Linked DNA regions of Homo sapiens: all the other regions are linked to region 3. The links are contacts of gene promoters, found by promoter capture Hi-C in blood cells and fetal thymus (Javierre and others, 2016). All regions are on one chromosome and are shown on one strand. Each heading gives the region's core, a stretch centred on a gene start or on the middle of the fragment in contact. The rest is flanking DNA. Distances are from core to core; before and after follow the strand shown. Region 1 holds the start of OR5W2 (olfactory receptor family 5 subfamily W member 2). Region 2 holds the start of OR5M10 (olfactory receptor family 5 subfamily M member 10). Region 3 holds the start of OR5T3 (olfactory receptor family 5 subfamily T member 3).

What was found. Contacts are between HindIII fragments. The CHiCAGO score rates a contact against its expected background, and 5 or more counts as called.
Region 1: the fragment with the promoter of OR5W2 here is called in contact with the fragment with the promoter of OR5T3 in region 3 in 5 of 17 cell types (non-activated CD4 T cells, erythroblasts, M2 macrophages and 2 more); the score reaches 7.4 in non-activated CD4 T cells.
Region 2: a contact is called between the fragment with the promoter of OR5M10 here and the fragment with the promoter of OR5T3 in region 3, in 5 of 17 cell types (M0 macrophages, erythroblasts, total B cells and 2 more). The highest score is 6.0, in M0 macrophages.

What each region holds. Positions count from the first base shown.
Region 1 is chr11:55,913,067-55,915,886 of GRCh38, reverse strand. OR5W2 (olfactory receptor family 5 subfamily W member 2) reads left to right here and starts at 1,305. Exons shown (of 1, transcript NM_001001960.1): 1 at 1,305-2,237. The coding sequence starts at 1,305. The coding sequence ends at 2,237. The HindIII fragment of the contact is 7,753 bases long and covers 1-2,820 here.
Region 2 is chr11:56,576,456-56,579,155 of GRCh38, reverse strand. OR5M10 (olfactory receptor family 5 subfamily M member 10) reads left to right here and starts at 1,435. Exons shown (of 1, transcript NM_001004741.1): 1 at 1,435-2,382. The coding sequence starts at 1,435. The coding sequence ends at 2,382. The HindIII fragment of the contact is 7,953 bases long and covers 1-2,541 here.
Region 3 is chr11:56,250,949-56,253,648 of GRCh38, reverse strand. It overlaps OR5T3 (olfactory receptor family 5 subfamily T member 3), which reads right to left and starts at 1,395. Exons shown (of 1, transcript NM_001004747.2): 1 at 427-1,395. The coding sequence starts at 1,395. The coding sequence ends at 427. The HindIII fragment of the contact is 3,630 bases long and covers 1-2,700 here.

The DNA.
Region 1 (2,820 bases), core at 56-2,555, 340 kb after region 3:
TTGCTCATCTCAGGTAGGTTTCTGAATGATCAATTTAAAGGACAGAGGAAAAATTTTGGAAAAATAAGAAATCATGTATTAAGGAATTTACAAATGAATGATTTTATAGATGCTTACTCAGTTGAAGCACCTCTGGAATCTAATGGCCAAACAATGATATTTTCTTATTGGATCTGTGTGAATTTGACTGACCTTACTTGTCATTGTAAGAGGATAATATAGATTTCACCCATTTATATTTTAATCAACCTTCATAAGTAAATCATTACTTTAAAAAATCACTGTACCTGTGATATTATTTTAGATGTAAATTTAAGATAGGTTCTAGATTTACTCAAATAATAATAGAGGTAACACATTACAGATATTAATTTATGAAAATTCAAGTTCTTAAGGTACATGCCATAATATTTAAGTCTAGAAGAAATAACAATCAGACCCACCCCACATTTCAATTTTCATATAACAGACACACACAGGCACACACACACACACAAGAGTAAGTGCACATATAACACAAGCAACAGAAGCCTATATATTTCAGAAACACTTATTGTTCTTCACATTTTGATTTTAATGAAAAAGTCAATTATAAGCAAATATAAGTAGTCTGTTGTTCACACTTCTTTTACCACTTACATTTGGCTTTTGTTTTTTAGAACCAGATAAGTCATCCAAATGGATTATAAATGCTGTGACAAACCAGTGATGATGAGTAACAGTTAAATAAAACATTTTTCTTTTCCAGTAAGCACTAACGACACCACATCAAAAACAGTACCATAATAATTTTCTCTTATTAACTTACATGTAATATCACTGTCAGTGGTAGAAAAATGTATATATTTCTTGAATAATGCAATAAATATGATCCTTTTTTGTCAAATATATGAGATGCTTAGTCCGGTATGTTCTGGCCCTTGTGACTCTAACTATGGTGTTTCTTTCACATCCTTTTGGATCTGTACTGAGCTTTCAGTTTAATCAAATTGACTGCCTTAGATTGTACAATAGAAGCAAAGACAAATGATATATGTCAGAAATTGCATGTAAGTTTAGATTCAAAGTTGATCAACTTCCTTTGGCAGACACTTTTAGGGTTTTTTTTTTTTAATACAGTAATAATGCCTCTTTGAAAGTGACACTCACCTGGGATACTTTTTGAGGGTAAAGAAGATAATTTACATAAACAAATCTTGTTCTACTTTACAGATAATTTTTTTTTTGATATCTTGGAAAGTCAAGTTCTAGACTGTCATTCTCGTAATGATTTCTGTAGCAGTTTGAAACAAGAACAAGGAAGAATGGACTGGGAAAATTGCTCCTCATTAACTGATTTTTTTCTCTTGGGAATTACCAATAACCCAGAGATGAAAGTGACCCTATTTGCTGTATTCTTGGCTGTTTATATCATTAATTTCTCAGCAAATCTTGGAATGATAGTTTTAATCAGAATGGATTACCAACTTCACACACCAATGTATTTCTTCCTCAGTCATCTGTCTTTCTGTGATCTCTGCTATTCTACTGCAACTGGGCCCAAGATGCTGGTAGATCTACTTGCCAAGAACAAGTCAATACCCTTCTATGGCTGTGCTCTGCAATTCTTGGTCTTCTGTATCTTTGCAGATTCTGAGTGTCTACTGCTGTCAGTGATGGCCTTTGATCGGTACAAGGCCATCATCAACCCCCTGCTCTATACAGTCAACATGTCTAGCAGAGTGTGCTATCTACTCTTGACTGGGGTTTATCTGGTGGGAATAGCAGATGCTTTGATACATATGACACTGGCCTTCCGCCTATGCTTCTGTGGGTCTAATGAGATTAATCATTTCTTCTGTGATATCCCTCCTCTCTTATTACTCTCTCGCTCAGATACACAGGTCAATGAGTTAGTGTTATTCACCGTCTTTGGTTTTATTGAACTGAGTACCATTTCAGGAGTTTTCATTTCTTATTGTTATATCATCCTATCAGTCTTGGAGATACACTCTGCTGAGGGGAGGTTCAAAGCTCTCTCTACATGCACTTCCCACTTATCTGCGGTTGCAATTTTCCAGGGAACTCTGCTCTTTATGTATTTCCGGCCAAGTTCTTCCTATTCTCTAGATCAAGATAAAATGACCTCATTGTTTTACACCCTTGTGGTTCCCATGTTGAACCCCCTGATTTATAGCCTGAGGAACAAGGATGTGAAAGAGGCCCTGAAAAAACTGAAAAATAAAATTTTATTTTAAGGAAATAGTAAAAATACATGTTTATACACACAAAAATGCATATTCATACTGGTGTTTTCTTCAAATTATATATTATAACATAAAGTTGTCTCAAATACCCTAATTTAATATAATACATATTTTACTCAGCCACAATCTAGCAATTCTCTGGAATTGTCTAAATATGCTATTTTTTTAATGTGTTTTCAATTTAGGTAAGGTAATTTCTCTATATTTGAAAAATGCTCCAGTCTTTGAGTTAGTGGGGCAAATTTTTATTTGTTTAATATATATTTCAGAGTAATTTTTCTTTTTTTCTTTTCTTTTTTTTTTTGTGATGGAATCTGACCCTATTGCCCAGGTTGGAGTGTAGTGGTGCAATCTCGGCTCACTGCAACCTCCGCCTCCCTGGTTCAAGTGATTCTCATGCTTCAGCCTCCCGAGTAGCTGGGATTACAGGTGCCTGCCACCAGGCCCGGCTAATTTTTGTGTTTTCAGTAGAGATGGGGTTCCAACATTTTGACCAGGCTGGTCTCGAACTCCTGACCTCAGGCGATCCACCCATCTTGGCCCCACAAAGTGGTGGGATTACGGGCGTGACAGG
Region 2 (2,700 bases), core at 186-2,685, 330 kb before region 3:
TGCAAGCTCCTCTGATGTATATGTGAGAGCTAAATAAGCAATTTCTTTAGGGTGCAAATTTTTGAGCAATAATTTTTACAGTCATAGCTTATTTTCATGAAGAACTCAGAGAGAGTGGCTTGAGTTGGCAGCAAAGACTGCTTTTAACAATGTTCTGTGATTCTCTAACAATATTTTAATAAGTAGTTTAGTGGCATATAAATGGAGACAAAAAAACTTCACTCTCTTCCTTCAGGTGCTATAATTGTTTATTTACTGTTCAAATGTTGCATTCTCAGAAAAGGCTACTTTGAATAGTCATCTAAAAGAATCTCACATTCATTGTTCTTCACAGACCCAGCTTTTACTTGAAATTATAATATGTATCTTTCTCTGTGGGTTTAACCATTATTTCTCATATTATAATGTGAGCTCCATGAAACTGGAAAATTTGTTCACTCCAATAACCCCAGGAATTGTAATACACACAAAAAAATCAAGCTATGCAGTCAGTGTACATGAATAAACAGGCAGGTAAAATTTCAAAGTGAAAAAACAGTTCTTGGTTTTGTATATTCTTAGCCATATATCAAGCACTAAGTTTAACTAATTTAATGTTCACTGACAATCATAGGTTTCTGTTTGTTTGTTTGTTTGTTTGTTTGAGACGGAGTCTCGCTCTGTCGCCCAGACTGGAGTGCCCTGGTGTGATCTCGGCTCACTGCAAGCTCCGCCTCCCGGGTTCACGCCATTCTCCTGCCTCAGCCTCCCGGTAGCTTGGACTACAGGCGCCCGCCACTACGCCTGGCTACTTTTTTGTATTTTGAGTGGAGATGGGGTTTCACAGTGTTAGCCAGGATGGTCTTGATCTCCTGACCTCGTGATCTGCCCGCCTCGGCCTCCCAAAGTGCTAGGATTACAGGCGTGAGCCACCGCGCCCGGCCGACAGTCATAGGTTTTAAGTGAAAATGCTACCTTAATTTTTTTCTTCTGTTTTGTATCTGAAATAATAAGATATCAGACATGGAGGGAAACTGAAGATTGGACTTCCTACATTTATTTATTTAAATGATGCTAATATTAATATCTGATATTCATTTCTTTGTTTTTTTTGTTCCCTCACAAACCTTGAAAATAATTACCAAATGTAGAATTCACCAAGAAGACAAGTATAAATGCATTAATGTATAAATTTATAAATGTATATATATAAGAGACAGAAATAGAGAATGTGCCTGTGTGTGTGTGGGTTTGAGATACAAAAAGAGACAGAAAACACACACATATAAAGAGAAAACGTTGTGCAGAAATTCTGATGTGTTTATTGAAAAAAGTAATTGGTGCCTAGATGAATAGATGAATGAGTGAATGATAAATGGATGAAACAAATGCCAAATCTGGATCAGAGAGAATCCTCACATTCTTTGTCACTTTCAGTTTTCAAGAAATAAGAAGATGTTGTCCCCAAACCACACCATAGTGACAGAATTCATTCTCTTAGGACTGACAGACGACCCAGTGCTAGAGAAGATCCTGTTTGGGGTGTTCCTGGCGATCTACCTAATCACACTGGCAGGCAACCTGTGCATGATCCTGCTGATCAGGACCAATTCCCAACTGCAAACACCCATGTATTTCTTCCTTGGTCACCTCTCCTTTGTAGACATTTGCTATTCTTCCAATGTTACTCCAAATATGCTGCACAATTTCCTCTCAGAACAGAAGACCATCTCCTACGCTGGATGCTTCACACAGTGTCTTCTCTTCATCGCCCTAGTGATCACTGAGTTTTACTTCCTTGCTTCAATGGCATTGGATCGCTATGTAGCCATTTGCAGCCCTTTACATTACAGTTCCAGGATGTCCAAGAACATTTGCATCTCTCTGGTCACTGTGCCTTACATGTATGGCTTCCTTAATGGGCTCTCTCAGACACTGCTGACCTTTCACTTATCCTTCTGTGGCTCCCTTGAAATCAATCATTTCTACTGCGCTGATCCTCCTCTTATCATGCTGGCCTGCTCTGACACCCGTGTCAAAAAGATGGCAATGTTTGTAGTTGCAGGCTTTACTCTCTCAAGCTCTCTCTTCATCATTCTTCTGTCCTATCTTTTCATTTTTGCAGCGATCTTCAGGATCCGTTCTGCTGAAGGCAGGCACAAAGCCTTTTCTACGTGTGCTTCCCACCTGACAATAGTCACTTTGTTTTATGGAACCCTCTTCTGCATGTACGTAAGGCCTCCATCAGAGAAGTCTGTAGAGGAGTCCAAAATAATTGCAGTCTTTTATACTTTTTTGAGCCCAATGCTGAACCCATTGATCTATAGCCTACGGAACAGAGATGTAATCCTTGCCATACAACAAATGATTAGGGGAAAATCCTTTTGTAAAATTGCAGTTTAGGCCTGTGTTTATTTGTAATCCCTAAGTGCCTGTGGGGTAACAAACTGAAATGGAAAAACCTAGTGTAGTTATTATTTAACAGTATGGGCTCTTAGTAACCACTTTAGTTTCTTCTCAAAATTAACACTTTGAAGATTTAGTTTTTAAAAATAAAAAGCTTAATGTTGAAATTAATAATGTTTTATTTGTCAGAGATTCTATGAATATAAATTGTTTGGTTTCTAATAATTCTGTATGAAAATACTGGGTTTACTTACTTGGGGGTAAACTTTTAACTAACTTAGCCTGAGAGAAACTCTGAAAATCCAACCCCTTTGA
Region 3 (2,700 bases), core at 146-2,645:
AGTAAAGTAAAATTTGGATATTTCTTCTTAGGGCTTATAGATTGAGGAAGTAACTCCACAATGAATGCAAAAACTTTTTATCAGCCATGTAAGCATTTATCAATTCCCAGGATTCTGTAGGATTCACTTACTAGTTATAAGTGTGTAACTGATTTTTACTTACTGTGAAAGCTGTTGTTAGTAGTGTGTGGTTGGTAACAATAACAATATATTTATATCAAATAATATTTAATATAGATCTCTGAACAAATTAATTGGCAAATATGTGATGCAATTTGTTTACATTTGAAAAATGCTGCATTGGCAGGCTGCTTAATGCTTTTTTGAAACTATTCTTTGATATGCAAATACTTTAACTAAAATATAGAGATGTGAACTCTGACACTCAACATTTTTTTCAGGTTTACTCAATTTTAAATATATTCTTCATTTGTAAACCAATTTCAACATTTTCTTCACTGCCTTTTTTACTTCTTTGTTCCTCAAACTATAGATGATGGGATTCAACTTGGGAATCACAATTGTGTAAAATATTGACACTATGATGTCATGGTCTGAAGCATAGCTGGAACTTGGTCTCATATAACTGACGAGAATTGTTCCATGATAAATTGTCACTCCAGTTAGGTGAGAGCCACATGTAGAGAAGGCCTTTTGCCTTCCCTTAGCAGAATGCATCTTCAGAATGGACAACAGAATGAAATCACAGGAAATGAGGACAATCAGGATAGTGACTATCTCAATAGAACCCACAAAGTAGAAGAGTAGAAGCTGGTTTGTGTGAGTGTCAGAACAAGAAATAGCAAGGAGAGGAGGCATATCACAAAAGACATGCCTAATTTCATTGGATCCACAGAAGGACAGGCTAAATGTAGCCACTATATGTATAGTAGCATGTAAAATGCCAGCAACGTAGGAAGCAGTGATGAGTGGCACATAGACTCTGGGTGACATGCTCACTGAATACAGGAGAGGGTTGTAGATGGCTACATAGTGATCATAAGCCATTGCAGCCAAGAGAAAACATTCTGTAGTTCCAAAAGTAACAAAAAGAAGCATCTGTGTTGCACATCCGATAAATGAAATGGATTTATTTTTTGCCAGGAAATTGACCAACATTTTTGGAGTGACAACTGTAGAATAGCAAGCATCCAAGAATGATAAAACACTAAGAAAATAATACATGGGGTTGTGGAGCCAGGAATCCTCAATGACCAACACAACCAGCCCTAAATTGCCTATCAAGGTAAAGAGATAGATTGCAAAAAATAGTAAAAATAGGAAGACTTGCAGCTCAAAATCATCTGTGAAGCCTGTCAATATAAACATGGTGACTTCAGTCTTGTTCTTCAGTGGATTCCTGTATATATCCAAACCTGATGACAACTTGTCCATTTCAGTTTTTACTTGCAGGTTATAAAGGTTATAGCCTGTGAAAGTGGAGTCCATTCAATTGTATCCTTGTTTTTTTCTTGGGGCATAATAATTTCCCTGATAGTAATGGAATAGACAATGATGAAGTAATTGGAGCCAAATAGATGAATTTCACTGTATAAGTAAAAGGAAAAAAAATATGTAATTAATTTCTTGGCTAAATTTATCATGTTTTTAAAAAACCCTGCTAATTAAAGTGATTTTATTTTCCAGTTAATTTTCAGTTGAAATTTTTACTGCTTCCTCTCATATTATGTCCTAAAGCTCACAAAGATTGCTGAATGTAGAAATATTTAAAACTAAATATGTTATAGTGGAAAGCACACACTTGAGTACACTTTTAGATTTGTGATGAAGTACATGAAATGTCTTTTGTAAATGTTCACAATTTTAAAATAAGAGAAACCACACTCACAGCACAGTTGAATTTAAATGTTTAAAAATATCAAAACTATTTAATTTAAAAGGCTTCCAAATGACTAGAAAATGGGGATAAGTCAGACATACATTTCAACTTGTCGCATGCAGCAGCCTTTTTAAATAAAACCATTTCATGTCCTCTGTTCTGGCAATTATCTTGTTCCATTACATAGAAGAGCAGACTGTATTCTGGAGATAGACGTACCTTTACAAACATTACAATGTGTTTTATTTTCAGGATTTTTTCTTCCTGAAATATATATCACCTAGTTGGCAAATTTTGGCCTCTGTACCTTGTTTATCATAACTGTTTTTAAATTTCAACTTAATAACAATGTGAGATATATCTTACTAATAATTCATATGTTTGTTATTTTTGCAAAGTCCTTGGATGTATTTTATTTTATTTTATTTTATATTTCTGTTAAAAATAAATCATGGCCATTCTTTTAGTATATTATAGTTGCTTTTAGAGTTTCTAAAATTACTATGAAATAAAAATCACCAATAATAACTAATAAAAATTATAGAATATCTGGCTAAAAAATAACATTACTATATTTGCAAGAAAGTAGTGTTTGTCCTCTGGACTTCTTTCCTGATGGTATCATTCTGTTTCACATTGACAAGTATGAAGAAAGACAATTACACAACCAAAAATAAATAAATAATTAAAAGAAAAAAGGTAACAAGGTTACAGGGACTTCTGTATCTAGACTGAAAACCTGTTATTGAAACGGTTTAGTACTACATACACTAAATTTAGAGGTAAAATTAGAGGGGAGATTTAAGCAAGGTGACTTTGTTTTTCTTTTATCATGTCATAGATTATGAAAGTTTTAAAAG